Linked DNA regions of Homo sapiens: regions 1 and 3 are each linked to region 2. The links are contacts of gene promoters, found by promoter capture Hi-C in human tissues and cell types (Jung and others, 2019). All regions are on one chromosome and are shown on one strand. Each heading gives the region's core, a stretch centred on a gene start or on the middle of the fragment in contact. The rest is flanking DNA. Distances are from core to core; before and after follow the strand shown. Region 1 overlaps ZNF709 (zinc finger protein 709). Region 2 holds the start of ZNF442 (zinc finger protein 442). Region 3 has its middle 52 kb from the start of ZNF44.

What was found. Contacts are between HindIII fragments. The study calls those that stand out against the background at their distance.
Region 1: a contact is called between a fragment that was not itself captured here and the fragment with the promoter of ZNF442 in region 2, in 6 of the 25 tissues and cell types used here (aorta, heart right atrium, hippocampus and 3 more).
Region 3: a fragment that was not itself captured here is called in contact with the fragment with the promoter of ZNF442 in region 2 in 2 of the 25 tissues and cell types used here (H1 embryonic stem cells and lymphoblastoid cells).

Annotation. Positions count from the first base shown.
Region 1 is chr19:12,471,940-12,476,317 of GRCh38, forward strand. All of the region lies in intron 1 of ZNF709 (zinc finger protein 709), which reads right to left. Among named protein-coding and RNA genes, the nearest start is that of ZNF709, 11 kb to the right of the region's middle. The HindIII fragment of the contact is 7,611 bases long and covers 1-4,378 here.
Region 2 is chr19:12,364,117-12,368,509 of GRCh38, forward strand. ZNF442 (zinc finger protein 442) reads right to left here and starts at 1,567. Exons shown (of 6, transcript NM_030824.3): 1 at 1,417-1,567; 2 at 686-1,127. RefSeq lists a silencer at 1,101-1,280 and an enhancer at 1,381-1,480. The HindIII fragment of the contact is 16,775 bases long and covers 1-2,572 here.
Region 3 is chr19:12,240,866-12,245,131 of GRCh38, forward strand. It overlaps a transcript of ZNF44 not described here. Among named protein-coding and RNA genes, the nearest start is that of ZNF44, 52 kb to the right of the region's middle. The HindIII fragment of the contact is 7,661 bases long and covers 1-4,266 here.

The sequences.
Region 1 (4,378 bases), core at 274-2,773, 110 kb after region 2:
CTAAAATCAAGAAAGTTAAAAGACAAATCACAAAGCAGGAAAAAAATATGTGACATACATGCAATATAAATGAACTAGTATGCAGAGTAAAAATAAATGAACAGTCAGGCATGATGGCTCACACTTGTAGTCCTAGCTACTCAGGAAGCTGAGGCAGGAGGATCATATGAACCCAGGAGTTAGAGGCTGCAGTAAGCTATCACACCAGCCTGGGTAACAGGGCAAGACTCTGTCAATAAATAAGTAATAAAATAGCCAAATAAATAAAAAGTGAACACATGATTTAAAAACGGAAACACAGGCCAGGCACGGTGGCTCACATCTGTAATCCCAACACTCTGGGAGGCCAAGGCGGGTGGATCACCTAAGGTCAGGAGTTCAAGACCAGTCTGGCCAACATGGTGAAACCCCATCTCTACTAAAAATACAAAAATTAGCCAGGCATGGTGGTGGGCACCTGTAATCCCAGCTACTTGGGAGGCTGAGGCAGGAGAACTGCTTGAACCCGGGAGGTGGAGGTTGCAGCGAGCCCAGATCGTGCCACTGCACTCCAGCCTCGGCGACAGAGCGAGACTCCATCTCAAAAAAAAAAAAAAAAAAGGAAAAATAATGAAAACATATTTAAGAGAGGATGACACACCATATATATGAAAAAAGGTCTGGCTGGGCACGGTGGCTCACGCCTGTAATCCCAGAACTTTGGAAGGTCGAGGCGAGCAGATCACTTGAGGTTAGAAGTTTGAGACCAGCCTGGCCAACATGGCGAAACTCTGTCTCTACAAAAAATACAAAAATTAGCCAGGTGTGGTGGCACGGGCCTGTAATCCTGGCTACTCAGGTAGCCAAGACACGAGGATTGCTTGAGCATGGGAGGTGGAGGTTGCAGTGAGCCACGATCGCGCCACTGCACTCCAGCCTGGGTGACAGAGTGAGACTCTGTCTCAAAAAAAAAAAGGAAAAGGTACATCTCGCTCCTTCCTTGATACAGCCAAATGAAATACCAAATAGATCCAATTTCTTACATATTAGAAGGACAAAAATCAGTCAATTAGCTACTCCCAAGTATTGATGACCACTGCCAATAGACAAATAGTTATGCATGAATGGAAGAAAGATCAACTGATACACTCCATTGCTATTTCCTGTATATTTGAACTTGACCATAATCTATAGCACAGTGATTTTTCTCCAACATCCAGAGAAGTTATTGTGTATTTGTACTTAGACACAGATACCAAAACAATAGGATCAGTATTTTTCACAAGAGCAAAAAATGAACTGGAAAAAGCCCAAACACCACCATCAATGGATTGGATGATAAAATTGGATTCCCCCAGCCTGTCACTATCATGTGAAACACAGAGGCAAAACCACTCAAAAACCTTTTCATTGTTAATTCCACTAATACTCATGTATTTAAAGTTCAAATAAGGCTCAACTAAAAGAACATCACATAGTGAAATGGAAGATAAAGGTATAAAGAATAATCAAATAATCAAGACTGTGGCCATCTATGAAGCAGGATGGAGATAAGCCAGAGGAGAACATCAATAGACTAATTAATGACTGACCAAAGCTCACCTATAAATTTATATTTTTAAATCACTTATTGAGGCAATGATTGACATGAAAAAGTTGTACATATTTAATGTATACAACTCAATGAGTTTGGGGATAAGTATACACCTATGAAGCCCTCAGTATCATAAGGACATAGACATATTCATCACAAAAGTTTCTTTCCCCCTTCATTATTATTACTATTTGTGTGTCTCTCTATGTGTTAAGAATACAACATAATATCTATTTTAGAAATTTTAAGACTAGGCACAGTGGCTCACACCTATAACCCCAGCACTTTGGGAGGCCAAGGTGGGAGGATCACTTGATGCCAGGAATTCATGACCAGCCTAGGCAACATAGTGAGATCACATCTCTAGAAAAAAATGTAAAAATCTTAGGTGGGTGTGGTGGCATTTGCCTGTAGTCCCAGGTACTTAAGAGGCTGGGACAGGAGGATTGCTTGAGCCCAGGAGTTTGAGGCTGCAGTGAGCCACGATTGTGCCATTGCACTCCAGCCTGGATAATGGGGCACGATCCCATCTTAAAAATGAATACAAATTTTTAAACATTTTTAAAAGGAATGTTTAACTATAAAATCATTGTGTTGTTAGCTATAGGTACTATGCCATATAGTAGATCTTCAAAGCTCATTTATCTGCATAACTGAAGCTTTGTATTCTTCAGCTTCATCTCCCCATTTCCCCCTTCCCCTGCAAATTACCATTCTACTCTATGCTTCTATGAGTTTGATTATTTTAGATTACATATATAAGTGAGACTACAAAGAATGTGCCTTTCTGTTTGGCTTATTTCACTGAGCATAATGTCCCCTACGTCCATCAATGGTGTTGTCAATGGCAGGATTTCCTTTTTTTAAAGGCTAAATCATATTTTATTTTATGTAAACATCACACATTCATCTGTTGACACACATTTAGGTTGTTTACATATCTTGGCTGTTGTGAACAATGATGCAATGAACATGGGAGTGCACATATCTCTTCAAGATGTTGATTTCAATTCCTTTAGATAAATATGGAGAAGCAGAGTGCTGGATCATGTAGCAATTCCTTTTCTAATTTTCTGATAAACATCTATGCTATTATCCATAATGCCTGTATCAATTTAAATTTAAACTTCTACCAACAGTATACCAAGGTTCCCTTTTCTCTAAATCCTCACCAACACCTGTAAGACTATAAATATATGTCTTAGCAGAAACCTTGGATGTCAAGAGAGTGGGACAATACATTCAAAGTGTTAAGCTAATTAGCAACACAAAAAGATATGAAAGTATAAAACTCATGGGTAAAGGCAAAAGTATAGTCAAATCCAGAATATTCTTATACATAATGGTGGTACAAACATCACTTTCAACTCTAGTATAAAAGCTAAAAGATGAAAGTATTTAAAGTGACTATAGCTACCATAACTTGTAAAATGGACACTGAATATTAAAAAGATGTAAATCCTGGCCAGGCACAGTGGCTAACACCTGTAATCCCAGCACTTTGGGAGGCTGAGGCAGGCAGATCACCTGAGGTCGGGAGTTGGACACCAGCCTGTCCAAAGTGACAAAACCCTGTTTCTACTAAAAATACAAAAATTAGCCGGGCATGGTGGTGGGCACCTGTAGTCCCAGCTACTTGGGAGGCTGAGGCAGAAGAATCGCTTGAACCCAGGATGCGGAGGTTGCAGTGAGCCAAGATCGCACCACTGTACTCCAGCCTGGGCAACAGAGTGAGATTCCGTCTTAAAAAAAAAAAAAAAAAAAAAAAAATCTAAGCATCTACATGAGGAAAGCAAGAAAATATGAGCAAATTAAACCCAAAGTAAGCACACAACAGAAGAAATAGTAAAAAGAGAAATTAAACAAAACCAAAGGTGTTTCTTTGAAAAGATCAATATATTTGATAAATGTATGGTTAAGCTAACTGAAAAACAGAGAACAGAAATTACTAATATCACAAATGTAAGTGGGAAAAATAAAAATGAAAAAGCTATGGGCAAAATCCAACATGCATTTATGATAAGAAACTGGAGATAGACTTTCCTCTTTTTGAGAAGCAGTATTTATAGGAAACCTGCAGCTAATATCATATTTAATAGTGAGAAAATAGATGCTTTCCTGGTAAGATGAGGAAATGGGCAAAGATGTCCCCTCTTACCACTCCTACTCAACAGATTGTACTCAAAGTGTAACTAATGAGAGGAGAGGGGAGGAGAGGAGAGAAGAGATATAGATTGGGAACAAAGAAATATCACTGTCTTTGTCGCATGTGACATGATTGTCTAAGTAGAAAATCTCAAAGAATCCACAACAAACTCCTCAAACTAGAGGTTGAGGATATAATCTTAATATACAAAAGTCAATTGCCTTCTTACAGACTCACATTAGTATAGTATAGACTCACTGAGTCATCTGATTTTCAACAAATGACCAACAGCAATTCAATGAAAAAAGATAGCCTTTTTCAACAAACAGTGTTGGAAAAACTGAACATCCACATGCAAAACACAATGAAAAAAACACAAATCTAGAAACAGACGTTACACCTTAAACAAAAACTGGCTCAAAATGGATCACAGAACTAAATGTAAAATCTAGGCCAGGAGCAGTGGCTCATGCCTGTAATCCCAGCACTCTGGGAGGCCATGGCAGGAGGATAGCTTGAAGTCAGGAGTTTGAGACCAGCCTGGGCAACTAAGTAGGACCCCATCTCTACAAAAAATACAAAAATTAGCCAGGTGTGGTGGTGCACGCTTGTAGTCCCACCTACTCAGGAGGCTGAAGTGGGAGGAGTGCTTGAGCCCA
Region 2 (4,393 bases), core at 317-2,816:
AAGAAGCCGGCCGGGCGCGGTGGTCACGCCTGTAATCCCAGCACTTTGGGAGGCCGAGGCGGGCGGATCACCTGAGGTCATGAGTTCGAGATGAGCTTGGCCAACATGGTGAAACCCCGTCGCTACTAAAAATACAAAAAATTAGCCGGGTGTGGTGGTGGGTGCCTGTAATTCCAGCTACTCGGGAGGGTGAGACAGGAGAATTTCTTGAACCCGGGAGGCGGAGGTTGCGGTGAGCCGACATCGCACCATTGCACTCCAGCCTGGGCAACAAGAGCACAACTCCATCTCAAAAAAAAAAAAAAGAAAGAAAGAAAAAAAGAAGCCATCCATTGCTCTCTGAAAACAAAATGAAAATTAAAATACTGGGACTCTGAAATTTAGCACGGGTGGGGCGGAGGAGGGAGGAGTTCATGATGTTGCTGTGAACTGAGGAGGGAAAGTTAGCCTGCGTAAGGCTCTGGAAACCAAGGGAGTTACTACCACCCCTAGGAGGAGTTAGAATGAGGGAACAGGGTAGTGGATTTGAGACCCTGCTACCCCCATCTCTGAAAAACTCGAAGAGGAATCAGTCACCCTGGGAAGAAAAGAAGGGACTGGGGACCCCGCAGACCACAGCTCCTCCCGTGCACAAACCCCACGCAAGAATCTGGATTCTGATTGCAGTTAGATATTAACCAGGTACCCTGAGCCCCACTGCCTCGCGGGGGCCGCCTTCCTGAGAGTCAGGTCACAGAAGACACTGACCGCCGGCTTCTGCATTGTGCCTGGGGATAAGATCTCGGAGAGCTGCTCGAGTTGCCCAAGTTCTTTCTCAGATCTTGAATTCCAACGGAAAGGCTGGCGCCAAGCAGGGTGAAAACCCCACGAGGGAACCCACTCAGCAGGAGAATGCGGTTTCTTCACCTCCCGTCCCAGGATTCGCCTGTCACTTCCCCACCAACCAGCGACCCCACACTTCAGCCGCCCCTGTCCAGACCCCTAAACACCCCCATCCCCAAACCTCTCATGGAGGCGGAACTGGGGTCTTCTCTCCTCTCCCCCTATTAAACTGTTTCTGCTGCAGGCCTTGGAGTCTCGGTGCAGTGACTCGGACCGCGAACCTGTGCCGGTTACAGCCGCACAATCTGGGAAGACGCGGAGCTGTGGGCATGGAGCTGCCCCAGAGAGGGCGCGGGAGCCGGGGCCGCAGTTGCTGCGCAGAAACGGGACAGGACGCCCGGGGTCCCGGCTGCCGGCCCAGCCCCCAGCTCCCACCCCGCGGCCGAGGGGACTGAAGGCCGGCTGGGCCAGGGGAACTCGGGTCCACAGACCCCGCAGTCGCCGCGGGGACGCCCGGGTCCCGCCACAGCCGGTTCTGGCCGGTTCCAACCAGTCCTTCGCCCTGCCCCAGGACGCCGGGCCCCGCACACTCACCATTTCCCGGCTTCCGCGGTGTCCCGTGTTCTCCCCAAGGTTCCCCGCTGCCAGCATAGGACTCAGCGTGACAGTGCCTGCCACTGACCTGCCAGGGCTTCTCTCAGCTACAGAGCCAGGAGCGGGAGCTCAGAGGGGTGTAGAAAGCTCCACCCTCCTCCCGGCAGCGCGCCTGACTGGCAGTTCCCAAGAACTCGCCCCCAACACTGATTGGGTAGAGCTCCAAATTCCGCCCCCCCAGGGAACTGATTGACAGAAGAAGGATCTTACACGGCTGAGTGGAGCGAGATGAAGCGGTTCCAGACACAGCCCTTGATAGGGTGGGCTTCCTCCCTTCGCTGTGACCTGACCCCTCCCAGGGGACATTTGCATTTAAGCGGAATTTCCTGCCTGTACTCAATGGGCTCTTCCTGCTCCTTCTTCCTGGACGGGGACCCACAAGTGTGTGCTGGGAATTCGAGACTCACTGCCCAGTGGAGCCATCCCCTGGCCTCAGAGCGGTAGGGGAGGCCCAGGCCACACAAACCACACTGAAGCAGGAGGGAAGGCCTGGTGTCCTCCAGGGATCAGGAATTTAGGATGAGACTGCTGGCTCCATGGTCAAGCCTTTCTCCCACCTTATCTCCCAATCTACTCATTCTCAGACCAGAAAATAAAAACACATCAACAATGAAATAAAATTGTTAAATGCATGGAAAATCTGGAATTATATGGCAGTAATCTTCTATAAAGGAATCAAAAGAAGGGAAAAGAAAAAACCTGAATTAGTTCAGAGAAATTTCAGCCACAGTTCAGCAGGAAACCCCCTTTCAGGAGGTTAAACATATTTTCAAGCTTAGAAGGCAGATTCTGACTCCTGAAGTTGAGTCCCAGAGTGTGTAACCAGCAGCTTAGCAGCTGAGTCTCAAACCACGTTTTAAACCTTTTTTTTCTTCTTCTTTCCCTTTTCCTCTTTCCCCTCCTGATCTCAAGATAATAACTTCGAGATAAACTGCATAGATGTTACCTCTCATCTTAAAATACAGCCTCAGAATGTGCTGTGAACTTCCACTCCCTTTCCTTTCCCATACTACACTGCCATGCCTTATGCACATTTATTTTTATTTTATTTTTTTGGAGACGGAGTCTCACTCTGTCACCCAGGACAGACTGTAGTGGCTCAATCTTGGCTCACTGCAACCTCCGCCTCCCAAGTTGAAGCAATTCTCCTGCCTCAGCCTCCCGAGTAGCACACTGGACTACAGGTGCACGCTGCCATGCCCAGCTAATTTTTTTGTATTTTAGTAGAGACAGGGTTTCACCATGTTGCCCAGGCTGGTCGTGAACTCCTGAGCTCAGGCAATCCGCCGGCCTCGGCCTCCCAAAGTGTTAGGATTACAGGCGTGAGCCACCACGCCTGGCCTGTGCACATTTATTTACCTAAATACTTATTAAGCACACACCATGCTCTCTTATTTGGTCATATATTTCCTTAGAAGCTTCAGGGGTTGGATCTTGTTAGGTACCAGGCACCTCTGGAATTCTCTTTCCAACAAAAGATTACTTCAAAGACAGAACCCACACCCAGCTGAAGAGTGACTACTATCGGGGAAACCAGCCCCCAATATTTCAACGTAGGTTCTATTTTCCCTAAGTGTCGGCCCATCTGAGAAATTAAGAGAAAGAGTACAAAGAGAAGAATTTTACAGCTGGGCCTCCAGGGGTGACATCACATATCGGCAGGTTCCATGATGCCCACCTGGGCTGCAAAACCAGCAAGTTTTTATTAGGGATTCTAATAGGGGAGGGGGTGTACGAACAGGGAGTAAGTCACAAAGATCACATGCCTCAAAGGGCAATAAAAGATCACAAGGCAAAGGCAAAATTAGAATTACTGATGAGGGTCTGTGTCCTGCTGTGCATGCACTGTCTTGATAAACATCTTAACAGGAAACAGGGTTCGAGAGCAGACAACCAGTCTGACTAGAATTTACCAGGCTGGAACTTCCCAATCCTAGTAAGCCTGAGGGCACTGCAGGAGACCAGGGCGTATTTCAGTCCTTATCTCAACTGCATTAAGACAGATACTCGCAGAGCAGCCATCTATAGACCTACCCCCAGGAATGCATTCCTTCCCCAGGGTCTCAATTATTATTATTATATATATTTTTTTGAGACAGAGTCTCACGCTCTGTCCCCCAGGCTGGAGTGCAGTGGCACAATCTCGGCTCACTGCAACTTCTGCCTCCTGGGTTCACACTGTTCTCCTGCCTAAGCCTCCCAAGTAGCTGGGACTACAGGCGCGTGCCACCATGCCCGGCTAATTTTTTGTATTTTTAGTAGAGAAGGGGTTTCACCGTGTTAGCCAGGATGGTCTCGATCTCCTGATATTGTGATCCACCCGCCTCGGCCTCTCAAAGTGCTGGGATTACAGGCATGAGCCACCACACCTGGAAGGGTCTCAATTATTAATATTCCTTGCTGGGAAAAGAATTCAGTGATATTTCTCCTACTCACATGTCCGTCTATAGGCTCTCTGCAAGAAGAAAAATATGGCTTTATTCTGCCCAACCCCACAGGCAGTCAGACCTTATGGTTATCTTTCCTTGTTCCCAGAAAATCGCTGTTATTCTATTCTTTTTCAGGGTGCACTGATTTCATATCATTCAAATACAAATGTTTTACAAACAATTTGTACAGTTAATGCAATCATCACGGGGTCCTGAGGTGACATACATCCTTAGCTTACGAAGATAACAGGATTAAGAGATTAAAGTAAGACAGGCATAAGAAATTATAAAAGTATTAATTTTGGGAACTAATAAATGTCCATGAAATCTTCACAATTTATGTTCAGAGACTGCAGTAAAGACAGGCGTAAGAAATTATAAAAGTATTAATTTTGGAAACTGATAAATGTCCATGAAATCGTCACAATTTATGTTCTTCTGCCGTGGCTTCAGCCGGTCCCTCCATTCGGGGTCCCTTAGTTCCCGCA
Region 3 (4,266 bases), core at 237-2,736, 120 kb before region 2:
GACATTGGATTTAACAATCATTTCTTGGATATGAAATCTAAAGCACAGGCAAACAAAAGATAAACTGAACTACATGAAAATTTAAAACTTTTGTGCACCAAAAGACAACATACAGAATGAGAACATATTTGCAAATCACGTATCTTGGAAGAGATTAATACCCAAAATACATAGGAACTCCTACAACTCAACAAAACAAACCAATGAGCCCATTCAAAAATGAGTGAGGGACTTGAAAACATTTGTACAAAGATATATAAATGGCCAACAACCACATGGAATAATGCTCATTACCACTGGTGATTAGGGAAATGTAAATCAAAACACCAGTGACAGTTCACAACTGTTGGAATGGCTGCCATTTAAAACAAAAAGTAGAATATAACCAGGGTTGGTGAGCATGCATAGAAACTGCAGTCCTTGTGTATTGCTGGGGAGAATTTTACACACAGCCACTGTGAAAAACAGTATGGCTATACATGAACATAGAAAACCCTGTGACCCAGCAATTCCACTCCTAGGTATGTATCTAAAAGAATAGAGGCCAGGCACGGTGGCTCACACTTGTAATCCCAGTACTCTGGGAGGCCAAAGTGGGTGGATCACCAGAGGTCAGGAGTCCAAGACCAGCCTTCCTGGCCAACATGGTGAAACCCTGTCTCTACTAAAAATACAAAAAGTTAGCTGGGCATAGTGGCAGACACCTGTAATCACAGCCACTCAGGAGGCTGAGACAGGAGAAACACTTGAACCTGGGAGGTGGAGGTTTCAGTGAGCCAAGATCGCACCACTGCACTCCAGCCTGGGCAACAGAGCGAGACTCCGTTGCAATCAATCAACCATGGAAAGCAGGGACTCAGACACATACGCACTGATTTTAGAGCAGTATTCAGAGTAGTCAAAAGAGTTTTGTGGAAACAACCCAAGTGCTCAACATATGGATGGATAAACAAAGTGTGGTGTATCCAATATACCACACTTGGGAATATTATTCAGGCACAAAAACTGAATTACTGGTACATGCTAACATGTGGATGAACCTTGAAAACATTATGCTAAGTGAAATAAGCCAGACACATAAGGACAAATACTGCATGCTTCTACTTACATGACGCACCTAGAATCAGCAAATTCATAGAGCAAGAAAGGAAAATAGAGATTACCAAGGGATGGGGATGGGAGGAATAGGGAATGGTTGTTTAATGGGTACCAATTTTTTTTTGGACTAATGAAAAAATTCTGGAACTAGCTAGCTAGCTGTGATGGTTCTAAAGCACTGTTAATGTATTTAATGCTACTGAATGGCATACTTACAATGGTAAATTCTATGTTACTATATTTGACCTTAAAAAAAATTAAAGGCCGGGTGCGGTGGCTCACGCCTGTAATCCCAGCACTTTGGGAGGCCGAGGTGGGCAGATCACATGAGGTCAGGAGTTCAAGGACCATCCTGGCTAACACAGTGAAACCCTGTCTCTACTAAAAATACAAAAAATTAGCCGGGCGTGGTGGTGGGCACCTGTAGTCCTAGCTACTCGGGAGGCTGAGGCAGGAGAATAGCGTGAACCTGGGAGGCGGAGCTTGCAGTGAGCCGAGATTGCACTACTGCACTCCAGCCTGGGTGACAGAGCGAGACTCCGGCTCAAAAAAAAAAAAAAATTAAAAACTGGCCAGGCACATTGGCACACGGCTCACACCTGTAATCCCAGCACTTCGAGAGGCCAAGGCAGGAAGATCCCTTGAGCCCAGGAAACCTGTCTGGGCAATATAGTAAGACCTATATAGTAAGACCTTGTCTCTCCAAAAAAAAAAAAAAAAAAAAATATGATTTAAAAAATTACCTGGGCATGGTAGTGTGCACCTGTAGTCCCAGCTATTCAGGAGGCTGAGGTGGGAGGATCATTTGCTTGGGAGGCAGCAGTTTCAGTGAGCCAAGAGAACACTACTGAACTCCAGCCTGGGTGACAGGGAGACCCTGTCTGAAAGAAAAAAAATTAAAAACTAAAGACACAATTTGAGCTACTAGAAAGGAAAACAACAATGCCTGGTATAAAATATGCACTGGATTGAATAACCAGATCAGATATTTCAGGAAGAAATTAAGACCCAGCAATAGAAATGACATAATTTTAAATACATGCACTTAACAAATTGCCAAAATACGTCATGCAAGAACACACAGAACTGCAAGGTGACACAGAAAAATTCACAGTTAACTGAAGACTTCAACACTTCTCAGTAATACAAAGATCCAACAGGCGTAGATTCAGTAAACATTCCTTTTTTATTTTAAAATACTTCACAAAGATTGTATATGTTCATGATGTACAGTTATGTTTTGATGTATATATATACATTCTGTAATGGTTACCACAGTCAAATTAACACATTGATGACCACCCATGCTGTACATTAAATCTCCAGAACGTGTTCACCTTACAACTTGGTTTTTAACCTTTGACCAACATTTCTCCATTTTCCCTACCTTCTGGACTCTAGTAACCACCGTTCCTCCCTCTGCCTCGGAGTTTAAGTTTTTAATATTCCACAATTAAGTGGGATCATGAAGTATTTGCCTATGTCTGCCTTATTTTATAGTGTCCACCAGGTTTATTCATGTGACAAATGTCAGGATTTCCTTTTTACGGCTGAGTAATATTCTGTTTAAATATACATCACACTTTCTTTATTCATCCATTAATGGATGCTAAGTTTGTTTCCATATGTTGACTATTGTGAATAATGCTGTAATGAACATATGCGAGTGGCAGATATCTCTTTGAAATACTGATCACTGCCTTTGGTCATATATGCATATACCCAGGAGTGAGACTGTTGGATCACATGGTAGTTTTTGTTTTTTTTTGCAGAACCTCCATATTGTTTTTCACAATGGCTGTACCAATGTACATTCCCACCAACAGTATACAAAGCTTCCTTTTTCTCTGTACTCTAACACTAATCTCTCTTGATAGTACCCATCCTTGCATGTATGAGGTAACATGTAATTGTGGTTTTGATTTGAATTTCTCTAATGATTAGTGATATTAAGTCCCTTTTCATTTGCTTTCCGGCCATTTGTATGTCTTCTTTGAAAAAAATGTCCACTCAGGGTTTTTAAATTTATTTTTTCTTATTGTTTTTACCCCTTGCAGAAACCAGTCTATTTTTCTTAATTTGTTAGTTTTTTGAGATGAGAGGGGTCTCATTATGTTACCCAGGTTGGTGTCGAACTCCTGGATTCAAACGATCTTCCTGACTCACACTTCTGAGTACTGGGACTACAATTGGGCACCACTATGCCCAGCTAATAATTTATTTATTTATTTATTTTAGACATGAAGTCTCCCTATGTCGCCCAGGTTGGTCCCAGATTCCTAGCCTCAGGCACTCCTCCCAAGTACGTGGAATTATAGGCATAAGCCACGGCACCTGGCCTCCTAAACTTATGAGTGTTCCAACTTGTAATAGACTTTGAAACATATACAACTTGTTGGTGCGTCCCAGGCCAATCCTCACATTTGGCTTTGATTAGCCTTTATCAAATTATTCTGCCTCAACAGACTTAATTTTGGTCAACAATTTAACTGAGGTACTTTATAGATAACAGTGTCCATTATACCACAGGAAATACTTCAGTGTTTAAATAATGAGAAAAGCAAAAGCTGTTCCCAATGACAGCTGCTCCCCAACTCACCACAAGGCGAAGTCTTACCCTGTTGAAAACTGTAACAAACCTCCATCAGACAAAGCTACCAGGTGACCATAATGGATCAAAATGAAATTCTGTAACCATGTCTCCGATAACCTAAAAGAAAACAGACTCCAAACTTTAAAAATGACCAGAAATCTCCTAATATGACTTGTGCTTCTTATGAATTAGTGTTAGTGCCACTCTATTCTTTCTGCCTCCTAGATAAGAACTATTAGAATTTTCCAAGGATGGAATTGAGTTCACCTAACAGCATCCAATACAAACACCTCACTTTGTTGAATGGCAATGAAATCACCTAAAAGAAACACAAATCCTATAAGAAGTCCTCTTGAGCACCCTCTTATGGATAACCCTCCGTCATTGATGCTTTGTGTTCATCCTTATTACAACTCTTTACATGCCACTCTTTGACTATAGGTGTGATTCTAGTGGTCTCTGGCAAGATGGCACAGACAAAAGCATGCTTTGTTCCTGTGGTATTCTAAATGAGAAATTAGATTCATGAGAAAAATTGTGACCATGTAAGAATTTTAAAAAATTTTTTCCTTTAC